Regions from separate parts of the Homo sapiens genome. Here regions 1, 2, 3 and 5 are each linked to region 4. The links are contacts of gene promoters, found by promoter capture Hi-C in blood cells and fetal thymus (Javierre and others, 2016). All regions are on one chromosome and are shown on one strand. The core of a region is centred on a gene start or on the middle of the fragment in contact, and the rest is flanking DNA. Distances in the headings are between cores, read along the strand shown. Region 1 has its middle 45 kb from the start of TAPT1-AS1. Region 2 overlaps LOC105374510 (a long non-coding RNA gene). Region 3 overlaps TAPT1 (transmembrane anterior posterior transformation 1). Region 4 holds the start of CLRN2 (clarin 2). Region 5 overlaps LOC124900674 (a long non-coding RNA gene).

Evidence for each region. Contacts are between HindIII fragments. The CHiCAGO score rates a contact against its expected background, and 5 or more counts as called.
Region 1: a fragment that was not itself captured here is called in contact with the fragment with the promoter of CLRN2 in region 4 in 2 of 17 cell types (M1 macrophages and M0 macrophages); the score reaches 8.3 in M1 macrophages.
Region 2: a fragment that was not itself captured here is called in contact with the fragment with the promoter of CLRN2 in region 4 in 5 of 17 cell types (total CD8 T cells, naive CD4 T cells, activated CD4 T cells and 2 more); the score reaches 9.6 in total CD8 T cells.
Region 3: a contact is called between a fragment that was not itself captured here and the fragment with the promoter of CLRN2 in region 4, in 1 of 17 cell types (M1 macrophages). The highest score is 6.2, in M1 macrophages.
Region 5: a contact is called between a fragment that was not itself captured here and the fragment with the promoter of CLRN2 in region 4, in 1 of 17 cell types (M1 macrophages). The highest score is 5.2, in M1 macrophages.

What each region holds. Positions count from the first base shown.
Region 1 is chr4:16,269,952-16,273,496 of GRCh38, forward strand. No RefSeq gene overlaps it. Among named protein-coding and RNA genes, the nearest start is that of TAPT1-AS1, 45 kb to the left of the region's middle. The HindIII fragment of the contact is 2,273 bases long and covers 845-3,117 here.
Region 2 is chr4:18,594,274-18,597,895 of GRCh38, forward strand. All of the region lies in intron 1 of LOC105374510 (a long non-coding RNA gene), which reads left to right. Among named protein-coding and RNA genes, the nearest start is that of LCORL, 570 kb to the left of the region's middle. The HindIII fragment of the contact is 462 bases long and covers 1,191-1,652 here.
Region 3 is chr4:16,221,009-16,224,392 of GRCh38, forward strand. All of the region lies in intron 1 of TAPT1 (transmembrane anterior posterior transformation 1), which reads right to left. Among named protein-coding and RNA genes, the nearest start is that of TAPT1, 3.8 kb to the right of the region's middle. The HindIII fragment of the contact is 1,839 bases long and covers 810-2,648 here.
Region 4 is chr4:17,513,350-17,517,043 of GRCh38, forward strand. CLRN2 (clarin 2) reads left to right here and starts at 1,816. Exons shown (of 3, transcript NM_001079827.2): 1 at 1,816-2,170. The coding sequence starts at 1,918. The HindIII fragment of the contact is 967 bases long and covers 1,761-2,727 here.
Region 5 is chr4:16,293,655-16,297,015 of GRCh38, forward strand. All of the region lies in intron 2 of LOC124900674 (a long non-coding RNA gene), which reads left to right. Among named protein-coding and RNA genes, the nearest start is that of TAPT1-AS1, 69 kb to the left of the region's middle. The HindIII fragment of the contact is 787 bases long and covers 962-1,748 here.

The DNA.
Region 1 (3,545 bases), core at 731-3,230, 1.2 Mb before region 4:
GGGTGACTACTTTGGATGCTATACAATTACCTGTATACGGATGTCAGGTAAGTTTATTGAATCATTATTTTAAAAATCTTATTTGCTTACTCACAGAGCCTATTTTTTCAGAAGTCTTAATAATCACATTTTACATGCTTACAAATGCTTGCTGGTGTCAGGCTCTGCTCTATGAATTCCACATGTACAGCTCATTCATTCTTGTAGCAGTCCCAGGAGGAATGGCTTCTTGCTTTCTCCATTTCACTTTTAAGCAATTTGCCCAAGGTTATACAACTATTCAGTGGAGGAAGTGAGGTTTAAACCCGCAAGGCCTGGCTCCGGAGCTTGGTTCTTAACCACTACCTCCACTGCATCTGATTATGTCATCTACTCACAGGATATTTTCCAATTTAAAATGACCGCAAGCAATCCTTAGAAACAGCCCCAATTTGCCAGATAATCATGACTGTCTTCCCTCCTATCAGGGGAAGCCATGTGGATCTGGCTTAAATTTCTTAGGAGAGGTGTATCAGTTAGGGTTCCTCTTTGGAAAGCCACAAAAATGAACTCTGGCCAAGATCTTATAAAAGGGGAATTTGTTAGAGGGATGTATGGATTAGGTAATAAGAGGGAAACTGGAGAATCAAGCTTAAAAATAGGATGGGAGGAGCCACGAACATAAACTATGTCTACTGTGGAAGTATAAGCAACAGGAACTTCACAAAATTCAGGGCACTGCTGCTGGAGCAAAAAAACCCCAATTCTTCTGAGCCTTGGGAGCCTTGGGAGCCTTGGAAGAATGAATATAAATGGCCAAGTTGGACCATGCACTTCCTAGGGACTGTACAGAATGGTGAGAGGAAGCTTCTTGGGGAAGGAGCCTCTGGGTATTTCAGAACAGAAGTAGAAAGTATTGGGACTTTAGTAGTGGGAGGGAAGAACTTCATGTTTTTCTACTGATATTGCACAGAATGGGGAAGAGGTAAGTATGAATGGGGAAGAGGAGGGAGTGAGCAGGAAACTGACTTGAAAACTATTACAATAGACCAAGTAGGTGGTCATGTAAGATTAAAACTTGGATAATAGAAGAAAGAATGAGAGGAAAAGTAGGATTTAAGAGGATGACTTAACAGCAGTTTTCTTTTTTCTTGTTCTCCCCTATTTTCGGAGTTCTCAACCATCATCTCCTGCCCCCAGGAGGCGACTCTGGGAATTAGAGGTTGTCTATTCCCATGTCTGAATTCTTGCCTAAAGGCCTTCAATTGCTGACCTCTTTTCTCAAATTTTCAATCTCATCTCAGTATCATTTTGCTTCCCAGTATTTTCGATACAAATCATTTTACTTATGATAGAAACCGAAGCAAGTATGGTTTGTCTTTGTAATGTAAACGTAATTTCGGAAGTAGACCATTCCTCTTGATCATAAGCAAAGTCAAACCTAATATTAGTTTGGATTTATATTACTGTTAATATTATTTACTCTCTGAAAACAGACTGCCCCCAATTAACATTGTGAATTGTCTGCCCTGTAATGACCAGATATTCCATTCTATTACATTATTGAAATCATTTGCATGGTAATTATGGTTTAGCTCTATCGGTAATTGGAATTGTTTGCCTTCTGGTAATGTTGTACAATGGTGGCTCATTAATCACATAGAAAACCTTGCCACGTGGCAGAATTAAGGAAGTATAATAATACACTCCCACTAAACTCGTGGTTCTAAACCAGCGTTTCAGTTTGTTCCATTACCTTTCCTGTGATGTAGGTTTTTGTTTGTTTGTTTGTTTAGTTTCTAAGCCACTCATGACAGAAAAACAATATAAACTGCAAATGTGAAAATGTGATTGTTCTAGGAAAATTTTATTTAAAAATTCCACAGCACGAATTACCCATCTCATCTTCCTCTTCTCTTCAATATTTCTCCTTCCTCCAATCTGATAAATGAAGCAAATATCATAGGCTGCCAAGGGAATTGAGATATTTTTGTGTGTGAGTGTGTGTGTGTGTGTGTGTGTGTGTATAATTTAAGTAAACCAAATGTATAGGAAAAATCTGAGTTTGCATTAAAAACAAAACAAAGCAAACAACTGGGGACTTAACCTTTACTTTACAAAAGGATTCTTTTAAAAACGGTCTTTAAATCCCAAAGTGCCCCTGGTGCGGTGAAATTACTATTTAATCTCTAAAATTTATATTTTTTTCAGGAAGTTTAATAGAATCAAATGATCCAAAAATCCATATACACACACACATGTGCATGCAATTAAAATATGGTCATCTTCTTGTCTGATGTGCTGGATCAGTGCCTGACATGTCAAATGCACTCAGAGATGATTTCTTCAATGGTGGTGATGGGGCATTCTGGCAGGTGATCGCCCCTCAGAGCCACATGTGTAAGTGAGGCAAGTGCCGTCTTTCCTTGGCGTCCTATACCTTCTTGGATGCACCCTCCCCTTTCCCATTTTTAGGGATTTTTAGGGATGCACCCTTCCCTATTTCCCAGCCAGAGCCCAGAGAGGGGAAACAAGGACAGGCTGTCTCTTTGGCTGCTGGTCTACTCGCACTTCCACTATATCCCCTTGGGACCAGAAGTGAGGATGGGTTTCTCATTCTTGTCTTTTCCTCTCTCCCAGGACTCCTTCTGGTATCCACAGTCTAGAGGAGGCAGGGACCGGGCATCTGACACCCCTACATAACATTCTCTTTTTTCTTAATTCAGCTCCATCATTAAGTTTTAATAATGGGAAGAGTGGATTACATGTGTTTCAGTTTTTTGATATATGAAATTTGGGCTGACTAAGTACTTAATCTGAAATGACATTGTTTTAAACTGGAAGAGTGTTGCAAATTTAGATTTTTTTCTACTATCCATTGGGTGTAGACAGGTATTAGGTGGAATAGTTATTTTTTTCTGCACATCTGAGTCCAGAGAACAAATTTGCATCTGTCACTACACAGGTCTAAGGGTTCATCTTGGGCATCTGCAGAAAGACTGGGTGAGTGTTTGAATGTGGGATCAGAGATGACTGTGAACTTGGGGCCCCTTCAATGAGCCCAGCCTTTGGGGGTACAGTTTTGGGCCATACTATAGCCTAGTTACTCAAACTAGGGATGCATAATGGAAAGAGAAAAGCTTTTGGAGTCAAATACCTTCAGTTTTCTTTTTTTCTTGTTAGATAGGGACAATTATTCCTATCATAATAATTAAATGAGATAATATATGTAGGGCACACGGTATGGCACCTGGGACATGGTAAGTTCTCAATACGCATCAGCTGCTATCTTTCATGTTATTAATGGGCCTCGGGGCTTTTTGCAACATTGTCCGCATCAGAGCCATAGTCGTGTCGTCCTTGAGTAACACAACTTTTGCAGGAAGCCAACAGAAGGCTTTAGAGAGTTGCCAATTTTGGAAAGATGCATTAGTCAGCTAGGTCTGCCATAACAATATACCCCAGACTGGGTGGCTTAGACAATAGAAGTTTACTTTCTCATCGTTCTGGAGGCTGGAAGTTCAAGATTAAGGTACCAGAAGGGTTGGTTTCTGGTAAGGCCTCTC
Region 2 (3,622 bases), core at 172-2,671, 1.1 Mb after region 4:
GGAGTGCAGTGGTGCGATCTCGGCTCCCTGCAACCTCCACCTCCTGGGTTCAAGCCATTCTCCTGCCTCAGCCTCCCGAACAGCTGGGACTACAGGCACACGCCACCACGCCCAGCTAATTTTTGTATTTTTAGTAGAGACGGGGTTTCACCATGTTGGCCAGGATGGTCTCGATCTCTTGACCTTGTGATCCGCCCACCTCGGCCTCCCAACCATTTTTAACTAAGATATTATGTTGATTGTTTGCTGAAAAATTGCTTTTTTAAAATGTAAAATGCTACACCAATATTAGTTTGCATGATTATTATTTGAATACAGACTTAAGAATCTTTATGGCGAAAATTATGCTTGGCTGAATTAGAAGATCTGTGTCCTGGTTCCCACTTGCTCACTAGTATTTTAGGTAAAATTGGACAAGTCAGATATGAAGACATCCATTATTCCCTCTCTCATATATGGATAATGAGCTCATATTTTGTGTATCCTATGGTGAATGTTATTGACATGAACCTTTTGGGGAGATATTTTGAAGACTCTATGCGTGTCAAGCATGTTACATGTTTAGATCTTATTCTTATTTCATTCCAATAACAAGTAATTCTTTCCTCCTATTAACTGGTAATAGGGTCATTCATGGATCACAGATTTGCTTCAAAGTAAATAAATAATCCCTATAAATTCATGCCTCATTTATTATAAATTATAATGCAACCAGGAGCTAGAATCACCCATACCCCTAAAGCATACACAATTGAATATCTTCAGCTGGAGAATACAGTGTTAGCTTCTTTGTGGCAGGTGGCAATTTAAATAGATGCTCTACCTGCTGATCCTGTTGATTTTATGTGCCCTATTAAAATGCATTTTCTGAATGACTTAGTTTAACATAGCGAATAATTTACAAGAAAAATTTTCCATCTCTCTCCCCAATGTTTGAAATAAGAGCATGTTCTGCTTTTTCCCATAGCCCATTTCTCCATTAAAAGAATGTTCCACATCAGAAATATAATTCCTCTCACACTGGCATTTACAGAGGTCTCATTACATTGAACAGAACATTCTTGAGTATGGCTTGATGAACAGCTGATCCACCTCCATACACCTCACACACAGATCTTGCCAGGTGGAGAAGCAGCACAGGAAAGGGAAAACCTGTGTCCTCCTGGGTACCAGAGAACAGCTTGGCTTTAAGCTTATGGAAAAATGGAGAATACTCTCTCTCACACACACACACACATACACACACACACACACACACACACACACACACACAATATTTCTGGGAGAATATACAAAGACTTAAGAGAGATTAGCTATGAAGAATGAAGATAGGAATGAATAGTTTGGGGAGGATTGGGGAAACCTTGATTTACATTTTTCAGTGTTAATGGTGTTTTTCTTACTATAAATGCGTGAATACATATCACTTCTATGCAAAAAATGATACTCTTTAGGTATTTAAAAGAATGATATCTGCATAGGCCATGTAAGCATTCCAAGATATTTTCAATAAAAAAGGAAGTTACAGAATATGTATAGTCATATATATGTGTACATATACACATATATAATGTATGCCTATGTATACATATATCACTATATATCTAACTTCCTTTCTATTATTTATATATAATGTATGTATATATTTAGAAAGCTTTTTGTTGTTGTTGTTGAGATGGAGTCTCACTCTGTCACCAGGCTGGAATGCAGTGGCGTGATCTCGGCTTGCTGCAACCTCTGCTTCCCGGGTTCAAGCGATTCTCCTGTCTCAGCCTACCAAATAGCTGGGACTACAGGTGCGCGCCACCACACCCAGCTAATTTTTGTATTTTTAGTAGATACGGGGTTTCACCATGTTGCCCAGGATGGTCTGGATCTTCTGACATCATGATCCGCCTGCCTCAGCCTCCTAAAGTGCTGGGGTTACAGGTGTGACCCACCGCACCTGGCCAACTTTTTTATTATTTATACAGACAATGTGGTGTGTGTGTGTGTGTGTGTGTGTGTATATATATATATATATATACATATATATATACACACACATATATATATAGACAATATGTGTGTATGTATGTATATACTTAGAAAACTTATGAACGTCTACATAGCCATATAGTTAAAAATTATTATAAGTGAAAAGATTGAAAGGGCTCCAGTGAAGAAAACATGAACTTTAAAACTGTTCTTGCATATTCTGAGTTTTTGATTGAATTTGTATACTAAAAACGCATTTGTGTATTACTTATGTTGTTCAAAAAGTATATATTTTTAGGGATCAGTCAGATTAGGTGGCTGTTTTGTGGCGGATGAAATATACCCACTTGCCCTGGGCTGTTTCCTGCAGTCTCTGCCCAGGATTTCTAGTCTCTATGCTGAGCCTGTCTGTAAGGTGTTTTCTACCCAGCCCGGACTGGATGATGGTCCTTCACTCTAGTCCCGTAATATTCCACTCCCACTTCTACCTGAGAATTAACTACACTGCATTTTACCTGCTTCTTAATTATCCGACCCAGATAGAACGCAACTTATGGTCACATTTCTACATAGTTTCTGATGTATAATAGGCTCTAAAATCAATGTTTATAAAATGGATGGATAAATGGAAACAGGGAAGAAACAAGCAGGAAAGGAAGGAAGGAAAGGAGGAGAGGATGGAGGAAAGAAGGGAGAAATATACATAAAAGAAGTGGTCGAATTGGATCTTCATCAAGAACAAAAATATCTGAGTTTTTATTCAGCTGTGTCTGAAGAAAAAATGATGGAGAAATGAGAATTCCAGTCATTATAGAGATATACATCATTGGGGACAAGTATTTTTCTTCTGTTTTTGTGTGTGTGTGTGAGTATATTTCTTTTTTATTATTATTATACTTTAAGTTTTAGGGTACATGTGCACAATGTACAGGTTAGTTACATATATATACATGTGCCATGGTGGTGTGCTGCACCCATTAACTAGTTATTTAACATTAGGTATATCTCCTAATGCTATCCTTCCCCCTTCCCCCCACCCCACAACAGGCCCTGATGTGTGATGTTCCCCTTCCTGTGTCCATGTGTTCTCATTGTTCAATTCCCACCTATGAGTGAGAACATGCGGTGTTTGGTTTTTTGTCCCTGTGATAGTTTGCTGAGAATGATGGTTTCCAGCTTCATCCATGTCCCTACAAAGGACATGAACTCATCTTTTTTTATGGCTGCATAGTATTCCATGGTGTATATGTGCCACATTTGCTTAATCCAGTCTATCATTGATGGACATTTGGGTTGCTTCCAAGTCTTTGCTATTGAATAGTGCTGCAATAAACATACGTGTGCTTGTGTCTTTATAGCAGCATGATTTATAATCCTTTGGGTATATACCCAGTAATGGGATTGCTGGGTCAAATGGTATTTCTAGTTCTAGATCCCTGAGGAATCGCCACACTGACTTCCACAATGGTCGAACTAGTTTACAGTCCCACTAACAGTGTAAAAGTGTTCCTATTTCTCCACATCCTCTCCAGCACCTGTTGTTTCCTGACATTTTAATGATCACCATTCTAACTGGTGTGAGATGGTATCTCATTGTGGTTTTGATTTGCATTTCTCTGATGGCCAGTGATGGTGAGCATTTTTT
Region 3 (3,384 bases), core at 479-2,978, 1.3 Mb before region 4:
TAGGTGTGAGCTACCGTGCCCAGCCGTCAACTGTGAATATGTAATATGAGGAAAATAATACCAATCATAAATCCAAATCAATTCCTCCAGCACATACGTACATATATATATACTTTTTTTTTGGAGACACAGTCTTGCTCTGTCACCTGTTGCCCAGGCGTGAGTGCAGTGGCACGATCTCGTCTCACTGCAACCTCCACCTCCACCTCCTGGGTTCCAGCAATTCCCCTGGCTCAGCCTCCAAGTAGCTGGGATTACAGGCGCACACCTCCACGCCCAGCTAATTTTTTGTATTTTAGTAGAGACAGGGTTTCACCGTGTTGCCCATACTGGTCTCGAACTACTGAGCTCAGGCAATCCACCCGCCTCAGCCTCCCAAAGTGCTGGGATTACAGGAGTGAGCCACCGCGCCCAGCCCCTCCAGCATATTTTTACATGATATCATCTCCTACCACAGAATTGCTCTGTGATCCAGAACTTAAATTCAGAAAAAGCATAGTATAAATTGCTTTTTCTTCACCCCTAAAAGAAAAAACACAATGTTTAATTATCTTCTAAGAAAGCTTATTTTAGAAATAAGAACCAAAGATTAAAAAGTATTAATTAAAAGTAATGAGTAATCATAAATATATTTATATGTTCAGTAATATGTCTAAATATATCTTTCTTAAAATAGCATTGAGCATTTAAAAATTTGGAAAGTAATACTGGTTAACTGTTAGGAAAATATGAAACATGCATATCTCCATAGTCTTAAATAACATAAAACTTTAGTAAACTTTATTAAGGTTACACTAAAATATTAAATAAGCTTATTGAACAGAGACACACTCTTGTACCAGGCCAATTAGTAATCAGCTTTTCTGGGACTCAATCATACAACAGCAATTCTGCCTTCCTAAGTCAAACATTAAGTAAAGAACCATTTCACACAGTATATTCAAGTTTTTAAGATGTTTGAAAAAATGTTTATAGTCTCATTTAGAGGAGTAAAGAGTAGAATATTTACACATGTATAGATGGAAAACAGGTATAAACAAAGGAGTGACTTTTTCCAAGGTCATAAGGTTATAAAGCAAAGGATTACAAATGAGAATAGAATATCATTAATTTGACAGTCAATGCTATATAGGCTTTCCAGAGACTTCTTTTATGCAAGTAGTCCCCAAATTGGAGCACAAATGAGCTGCTAGGATTGAATTTCAGAGCGTAAACTAAGTTAAAGTTAAAAACTGTCAAAAGCCAAGACACTGAACTGATCAAAAACCAAAATAAGTAACTTTTCATTGTTCGTTTGGTCTATATATACTAATTAAGTAAAGCAAGTGAGAATTTTAAAAGCAAAGCAATAGTTTGTCAGAAGTAGCTAATTTTACTTTGTATCTGGTTTGTGGTTACTCCAAGTAATTTCCCGGTTTTATTATTTTTATTTTTCTTTGTGAACAAATTAATTGGCTCTAGATCATAATTTTAGAATCAGTCACCCTTTAATCATCCATTTGGTTAAGTTTGGGGCCACTGGGATAACTATGTGATATAGGTGAAGACTGGTTAAATGAAAACATATTTTAATAAAAATGTATTTGTAAGAAGAAACTGACAAATTTTCAGTTACACAAAGAATAAGACATAGGTAATATGAATAGTTAAAACCTTCGTCCCACTCGAAATCTTTTAAGGGTATTGCTAAAAATTCAGTTGACTTTTCTGGGTTTCATTCTTCCTGCCTCTGCTCAATCTCTAACAGAGGTGAAGCAAGAAGAGGTCTAACCATGGTTAAAGGGAGAGGAGAGAGGCAAAAGAGATGGATAATAAGTTGAAGTTTTAGAAGTCCAGAGTCACTGTTAAAGAAGAAAGAAATGGGTCCATGGCACTGTTACCAGTAGAAACAATATGTTCACCTATACCCGACTTCAGGCTTTCTTGTTTTACAAGCAATACCTATCCCCATGCATCTCCAACACCTGCATTACACAGGTACTGTTTCACCTGTGCTACCCTCACAGGTGCTACCCTTATTTACACCAAGCCTTCTGTTAAGTCTCCATGGTGACTAGAAGCAACCTAGATGCTTCAGATACTGAACTATCTAGTAGTGGCATTATGAAACAGAACCAAACTGATTAGGCAAGCAGTCTAAGCAAGCACAGAGTTTACAAAGCAATTCAACAACCCAACCAAGCCAAAAACACAGATTTCCTAATGCTTAGTCCAAAGTTGATTTGCTGTACTTAGATTCCTAAATAAAAATATGGCTATACAGAAACTCTCCTACCTAGGACTTCTGCAGATGAATCAAGTGGGGAACAAGCACAAAAACATAACATTGATTATTTGGTTTTATGTCAAAAGGAACAACAGAAGTTGGTAGTATTTTCAAGGACAGGAAGAAAATACAGAAGAGATCAATCTGCAGTTCTTGATAACCACTACATCCAGAGTTCAAGGCCAGTAACCACATATGCAACAAGGAAATACACAATGACCATTCTGAGAGAGCAAATAAAAACAGGAATGATGAGTGGGATTCCCAATTCTAACTATGTTAAAAGGTGTAAGTACTCGCATCTGAGACATGCGTCAGCCTATTGCCAGGCTAAATATAAGTCAGAACGGGAGTTCTGAGAACGAAGTGATGAGGAAAAGAAAGCTTAGACTTAATGGAGACACATGTTTAGTATAATACAATATAGAGCATATACAGCTATTCATACAGACAAATATACATATCTAGTTTCTAAACATATAAATCAACAAGGAGAGATATAAAACAAAAAATGAACCTCAGACACCACGTTTTATTTTATTCAGATGGAAAGAGTTTGGATAAGTACCTAATATGTACATTCATTTAGGGAATTCTAGGCTGTTGGGACTGATCAACAAATGTCTTACCTGTAGGAGCCCTAAATTCCTTGTGAGAAATGATAAAGGGAACTTTGGAACTGACTGATGGTTCAGCCACCAAGACACTAAGATTATGACTTTCAAAAAGAAAAGCCAAAGGTTGCCTTAACTTGCAGGGGGATCTAGATCTCAAGGGCAGTGGTGCTAGACTCTCAGAGGCACACAAGAATATAAAAAAATCAACAAGTAATACCTTAAGTCCGAGCATCTAGCCGTGGAGGACTAGTTTGATTCAGGGAGAAATGCTATCCAAATGACTCCAGGTGCTGCCACTCAAAGGCCCTCTGACCCAGGCCAGCTCCTAGGGAATCGTTTTTAAAAATTCTTAAAAGGAGGGGAAGGAAGGATTACAGAGCAGGGGAAGAGGGCAGCGCTAGACTTAGCAGCCTGGGCATTGAAGAAGGACTAAAATAATTGTTTCTAGTGGGGAAACCTCTAACAAATATGGTTATCGGAGCTACAGACTGGGTGCTAGCA
Region 4 (3,694 bases), core at 566-3,065:
CACACCTTTGTTCAGCAAGACAAAGGCTTGTTGGGAATCAAGTGTTTCCCTTAGAGTTTTTCTGAAAACAATTGCTTAACCCTCAAAACACCAAAAGTTGACACAGGTCCCTCACTGACGGCAGAAATATGACTCAATGATATTTACGCAAGTCCTGACTTGTCAAAGCATGCTTAATGTTAAAATAAGAACGTGAACTAACATTATTGATCACTTAATGTGCCAAGCAGTCTTCTGAGCCTTTTATATGTATTCTGTTATTTTTTACCAGAAAAACATTTGCTGTTTCAAAGTCACTGGGATGAAGATGAGCTGTTGTAATTCAAAGACCTGAATTTCAGCCCCAGCACTGACATCCAGTTTTTCATGAGAGAAATGGCTGAAATCGTGCATCTCCTGTTTACCTTAAAGGGTTGCTGGAGCATCAGAGGTGAGCAAGCATATGGTCAAAGCATTTTGCATTTTGTACATGGTAAAGTGCCACTCATCTGTATATATAGTAAGAGACAGGATCTCACTCTGTTACTCAGAGTGGCATGATCATAGCTCACTACAGCCTTGAGCTCCTGGGCTGGAGCAGTCTTCCAGCCTCAGCCTCCAGTAGCTGGGACTACAAATACACGCCATCAGGCCCAACTATTTTTTTTTTTTATTTTTTGTAGAGATAAGGTCTCACTACATTGCCCAGGCTCAGAAATTCTCATTTTTATTTTCATTGTGGAGTGGCCACTGAAGTGAGCCCCAGTTGCGAGGAAGGAAACTGACATTTCCATTAATGTGTCCCTCTGCTTCCTTGACACTCTCCAAGTGAGATTCCTGGGACCCCTATTGGTTAACAGTGCAACTTCCTGAACCCCCCTTCAGGCTTCTGTGACCAACTAAGAAATTTTACTGCTCCACTTTTGCCCAACTTTGCTCCCCAGAGATATGGATAGAGTGACTGTTGCCAGTCTCACATGATGTTAAGTTGATATTCAGGAATAAGGTAAAAGTCAAAATGTCAAAGTCCACAGTATAAGATAGAAAGGAAAGAATATTTCATTCCTAGTATCTACAGATTAAAAGGAAAGCCTAGATCTTCCACTATTAGAAGAGATGAATACCCCAGCAGTGTGGCTACTATTTGCTAATACACTAGAAAAACACTTTTCTCTCCCATTTCAGATAACGTAGAAGGAGGGACGGGTGAGAGCAATGTTAAGTGTTGGATTCCAGGCTACCCCAACAGCCACAAAGTAATTCTAGTCACAGTTTACCCCCAGCAGATTCACACAGTGAGAAATTCATAAGGCCCTATTTACACATTTCAATATTAAAGCCCCAAGAACCGGGGTCATTTGATGGTATTAATAACAGTCCTAAAGATTCTGACAGCAGTGACATTTCAGAGAAAGAAATGCCAGGGCACCCATGCATCAGCGAGATCGACATTTGATACTGCGCATTGTTGGCAATATTCAAGTGCTAATCATTCTGTTTTTGTTTTCCTTCTAACACATGCATTTTTTGAGATTGGTTTGCGTCTCTTAATCTTCAGAGCTACCTGATTTTGCTTATTACTAACTCCTTTATCATTACGAGGTCCACACCAGGGCTATTTAAATACTTGAAACGAGGAACAGTTAAACAGTCTGCTGAAACATTAGTCTAGGAGGAGATATAAGGTTACTTCCTTCAGTAACACACTCCGCTACATAGTCAGGTGAAGATTGTCTCTGTAGAGGCTTCTGGATGTGGTTGTAGGAAGCATGGACTGTGCAAGCTTGCGCTGAAGGAGGACGAGAGGATGGACCTACAACCTTGAAACAGAGTGTTTGGAAGAGCTGACCTTGGAGCAGAGCATTGCCGAGTATCTGAAAGATGTCAATGACCCTCGCTGCTGCTCGGAGACCTTGGGGATGACCTGCACCCACTAGCATGCCTGGATGGTTCAAAAAGGCGTGGTATGGGCTGGCGTCTTTACTCAGCTTCTCCTCCTTCATCCTGATCATCGTTGCCCTGGTAGTGCCCCACTGGCTGAGTGGGAAAATCCTTTGTCAGACTGGAGTGGATCTGGTCAACGCCACAGACAGAGAGCTGGTCAAGTTCATTGGGGACATTTACTACGGGCTCTTCCGAGGGTGTAAAGTGCGGCAGTGTGGGCTTGGGGGCCGCCAATCCCAATTCACGAGTGAGTATATTGGGAGCATGAAAGCTGATTCTAGGCACTCATTTTTGTTAATGTGTAAGAGTGCTTATGTCTCATTGTGGAATTTGGCTGCTGCCTCAACGTCAGGCATAATGTCAAAGTCCACAGTGAGCCAAGGGTTCTGGATCCACATCAAAAAGATCTTTCCTTCCTTCCTTGCTTCCTTTTCTTTTTCTGTAGAGATGTATAGAAACATTAGAAATAAGGATTTGTGCATTTTTGCAGTTTACCTCTATTAATTATGACTATTAAAATATTGAGAGTTTACACGTGTCAGACATTGTAAGCACCTCACGCCACTTGTCTCCTTAAAGCCTTACAACAAAGTTATACAGAAGGAATTGTTAATGTTCCCATTTTCCAGAGGAGTACACTGAGGCTTGGAGAGGTTACATAACTTACCTGAGGTCACCCAGCCAGGAAACAGTAGAGCCGGACTCCAGACCCATGCCACATGACCACAACAAGTGGGTGGAGGCTGCCTGCAGAACTGAACCTTTGGGAAGCATGATGACCCTTTCCACATCTACTTTTGTAAAAGCTTCATAGTCTGAGAAAATGCAAAGGGGCACTGTGCTTGGGTTCTGGAATCAGACTACCCTGGCTGAAACCCCTACTGGAAAGTTTACTGGTGGGGAGACCTCAAGCAAGGCACTTGCCTGTTCTCTGTGAACGTGAGCGGGCACCGACTTTGGCTGGCATTCAGTGTAGCATCAGAGCTGCCCAGGATGTAAGCAGAGCAGTCTGCACAAACAGGAATCCAAGCTGGACTTAGGAACGGGCTTCTGGAAAGGAAAAAACAAAACAGGCAATATTCTGCAAGCCTTTTGAATCGATGAGATCACTGGTGAAAAGTGTCTGCACAAAACCGTAATTAATCAATACCATGCCAATGTAGGGTGATACAGAATTGTATTCATTCCTTGATTTCTATATTTCAGTATTGTAGTAGTTTATAGAAATCTGGCCAAGGTAAATGTCGTATTAAATTTATAAGGACAAAAAGCTGGAACCGTTGACAAATATAATACAAATTGTCATCATTTAAACACACAAAAATTTACATTTGTTATGTATATTCAAGATCAATATGTCTGGGCATATTTATATTTACCTAGCAATTAGATTAGACCCTGGATATTGAACAAATAGCTCCATCAAAATTATAACATAAAACTTGAAAACACACACACATAAACAAATAAAAAAAAGAAATGCTAAAAGCTAACCATGACAACTACATGGACTACTCGATTCTGAACTAGATGCTTTGCTATAAAGGATGTCTTCGGGACTTTAGGGGTCAAGAAAACTTCCCCTTTGCACTCTGAAGGTTCTCTAAACAATCTACTGACAAAAGGCAGATTAATAGGGAAAATGGCTTACACATTTATTAGCATGCATAGGGGAAAAATCACAGAGTGATTGTCCGCTATCTCAATGGGGTACAGGTGGTTGTATCCTCTTCATCTTAGGGGAAAGAGAGATGGGGAAGTGTGGATGATT
Region 5 (3,361 bases), core at 105-2,604, 1.2 Mb before region 4:
CTGCCTATTTTTGTAAATAAAGTTTTATTGGAATACAGCCACATACATTTGTGTACTTATGGTTTATGGCAGCTGCTGCCATACAATGGCTGAGTTGATTAGCGTGTGGCAAGTATCATAGTAGGCCCTTGATAAATAGTTGTCTGTATTCTCCCCATTTTACAGGTAAGAACATTGAAGGGAAATGGCTTAAGGAAGAACAGAAAGTTCCTATCTTCTTAGGAAAGGGCTCATTGTTCTTTGGCCTTGAAACAATTGCCAGACATGGTTTTAAACTTTTCCTAATTGGTCATTAGCTATTTTGCATCAGCACAAACACTGCTGAAAGTCATCCAATCAGCAAGACTGTCACTCAGGCATACAGCTAAATATTACCCAATCTGTAAGTACCCCTACTTCTGAGAAATTCCATGAATCCCTGAACTCCATACATCCCAAATAAATATATATAGCCAGCTCTCAGCTGTGCTCAGAGAGACTGGGCTTTACAAGTTGTTTTTCTCACTGGTTATTATGGCCTCTTTTTTGGAATACCCAAAATGAGTGAAGGAACTGAACTGGGATTCAATTCCGGACTATCTTCTTTCAAATCCCATACTCTCTTGTCTACTCTTCTTCTCTTAGAGTTTTGAATGCATGCTGCTGGTGTTAGTGGAGACGATGGTAGCTGGGTAGCTGGTACACAATATTGGCATTAAATAACATCACATAGGAAGGAAGTCATTTCCTTCTCTACCTTCAATTCTGTTTTAATCCTTCTTCATATACCCAAGATAAACTCTCAGTTGAGAGATAGTACACATAGCAGTTAACAAAACAGGCTCTGGAGCCAGATTTTCTACTGCTATTTTAGTTATCTATTGTTGGATATGAAACTAGCCCCAAACTTAGAGATGGAAGACACCAATAAAAATTTATTATCTTGCACATATCATGTGGGTCAGGAATGAAGAAGTGTCTAAGCTTGGTGGTTCTGACTCAGCATCTCTCATGAGATCATAGTCATGATGTTAGCCAGAGCTGGAGTCATCTGAAGACTTGAGTGAGCAGGAGGATTCTCTTCCAAGAATGCCCCCTCCCATGGCTTGCAAGTTGGTGCTGGCTGCTGACAGAGGCCTCAGTTTCTTGCCTTTCCATAGTGCTGCATGAATGTTGTCATGACGTGGAAGCTGGCTTCCTTGAAGTAGCTGATGCCAGAGAGCAAGGCAAAAGGAACAATATCTGTTATGATCTATCCTTGAAAATCACACAATATCACTTGTGTGTGCTTTGGTCACAAATACACTATGGGAGCTGACTACACAAGGGAGTAAATACCAAGAGGCAAAGACCACTGGGGGTCAGTCACCTGGGAGGCTGCCACTACCACTTACTAGCTCTGTAATGTTGGGAAAATTATTAAACTTCACTGTGCGTCAGTCTCTCTACCTATAAAGTGAGAATAATAATATAACCTACCTCATATGCAAGGTTTTTTTTTGAGAATTAAATGAGGTAATATCAGTAGGGCCTATGAAAGAGTGCTTAGAACTGAGTGCATACTAAGAAATGTCCACCGTTAGTACTTTGATAACTGTCTAATCCTGTAATCCAGTGTTACTCAAAGAGACAGTACTTCTTGAGATCAGGAGTCTGACACAGCAATGTAAATCAATGCCTTGCTTTCTTCATTGAAGAAGTCATAAATTTGTTTTTAATGTCAGTTGTAATATTGTATATAGTGATTTAGTTAATTTACATTTGGAGCAAGCTTATTAAGTGTTTGTAAACTAAAAAAGCAGTTTGTAGGCCAATAATCTGTCCATAAACCACACTTTGAGTACTGCTTTCAACACTTGCTAATCTTTTGTTAACATAAGAGTATAAGGAATAGTCCTTAATGGCATCATTTTCTTTTCTTTTCTTATCTTCTAAATTTCTCAAAATATAGAGGGAGGTGGGTAAGAACAGATAATTTTATGCAACTGATAATGTGCTATCAAAATGCAGAAGGATGGGAAGAATGAGCTAAGAGGAATAGATATTTACAGGCAAAGAAGTTTTGGAAAGTCATGGAAGGGAAGAATTCATCTTTGTAATGGCAAATGGCTGTTTTTATCCATTTATAGACATGTTATAAATTTTTTCTTTTAAATAATCTTATATCTTAGCCTGGGTTCTCCAAAAGCAAAGCCCAAGACGAAGGTTCTCATATGGGCTAATCCTCTGGAAAATGATTTCAGGGAGCAGAAATTTGGGAGTAGATCAGGAAGCAGATACAAGAATGAGTTGTTGAACTGGCCTCTGCTGCGAGGGTGGGAGTTCGGTCTCACCAGGATGTTCTGAGGGCCTTTTGAAATCCTTATGTCCCTGGGAGATGAAAGAGAAAAACATTTATCCATCGGCTTCTTTCCTTCCATTAGTCAAAGATGGTCCCCTGGTCACCACTCTCTTTTACTTCCAGGATGCATGTTGCATGTAAGTGTTCTATGGGTTCCAAAAGGGAGTGGGCAGCAGTGTGGAATTCCAAGCTAGGCAACAAGAGGTATGTGGTCTAGCTAGAGGCCAAGAGCTCTTTGGTTATTTCTTTGCAGAGCTAGGAAAAGTCTGCTGCTTAGAACTTTCAGAGTTGGCCGGGTGTGGTGGCTCACCCCTGAATCCCAGCACTTTGGGAGGCCAAAGTGGGTGGATCACCTGAGGTCAGGAGTTCAAGACCAGCCTGACCAACAAGGTGAAACCCTGTCTCTACTAAAAATACAAAAATTAGCCAGGCATGGTGGCACATGCCTGTAATCCCAGCTACTTGGGAGGCTGAGGCAGGAGAATTGCTTGAACCCAGAAGACGGAGGTTGCAGTGAGCCAGGATTGCACCATTGCACTCCAGCCTGGGCAGCAAGAGTGAAACTCTGTCAAAAAAAAAAAGAAAAAAGTAGTTTCAGAGTCACGGCGATCACAAAATACAACAAAATAAGACTCAAGAAGATTTCTGTGGATAAGGAATGTTCAATAGAATCCATTAAAATAAAAAAGCACATTTTGAAAATATAAAACATTAAGTAGGGACTTTGAGTTTTAGCTCAAGCATGTAAACAGCTAGGAAGCCATCATTCCCGTCTTTAAAAGAAAAGCTGGACAAATTGAAAATCAGTGACTTTTCCTGGAATCATCAGGGAAGTGTGATTGCACAACAAGCTGCCAGCTTAACACGGTAGAGAGACAGGTGCATCCAGAGATTTGCTTACCTAGAGGGAAGCTACTAATGCCATACACTGGGGAATATCTAAGTGGTAATTTAAATGAATTACCAGAGATACAATGAGAGAATGGGAAACTGGTGGAGGTCTCCAAACTTTCAATGGGCCTTCCCTCTAGGAGCCACATC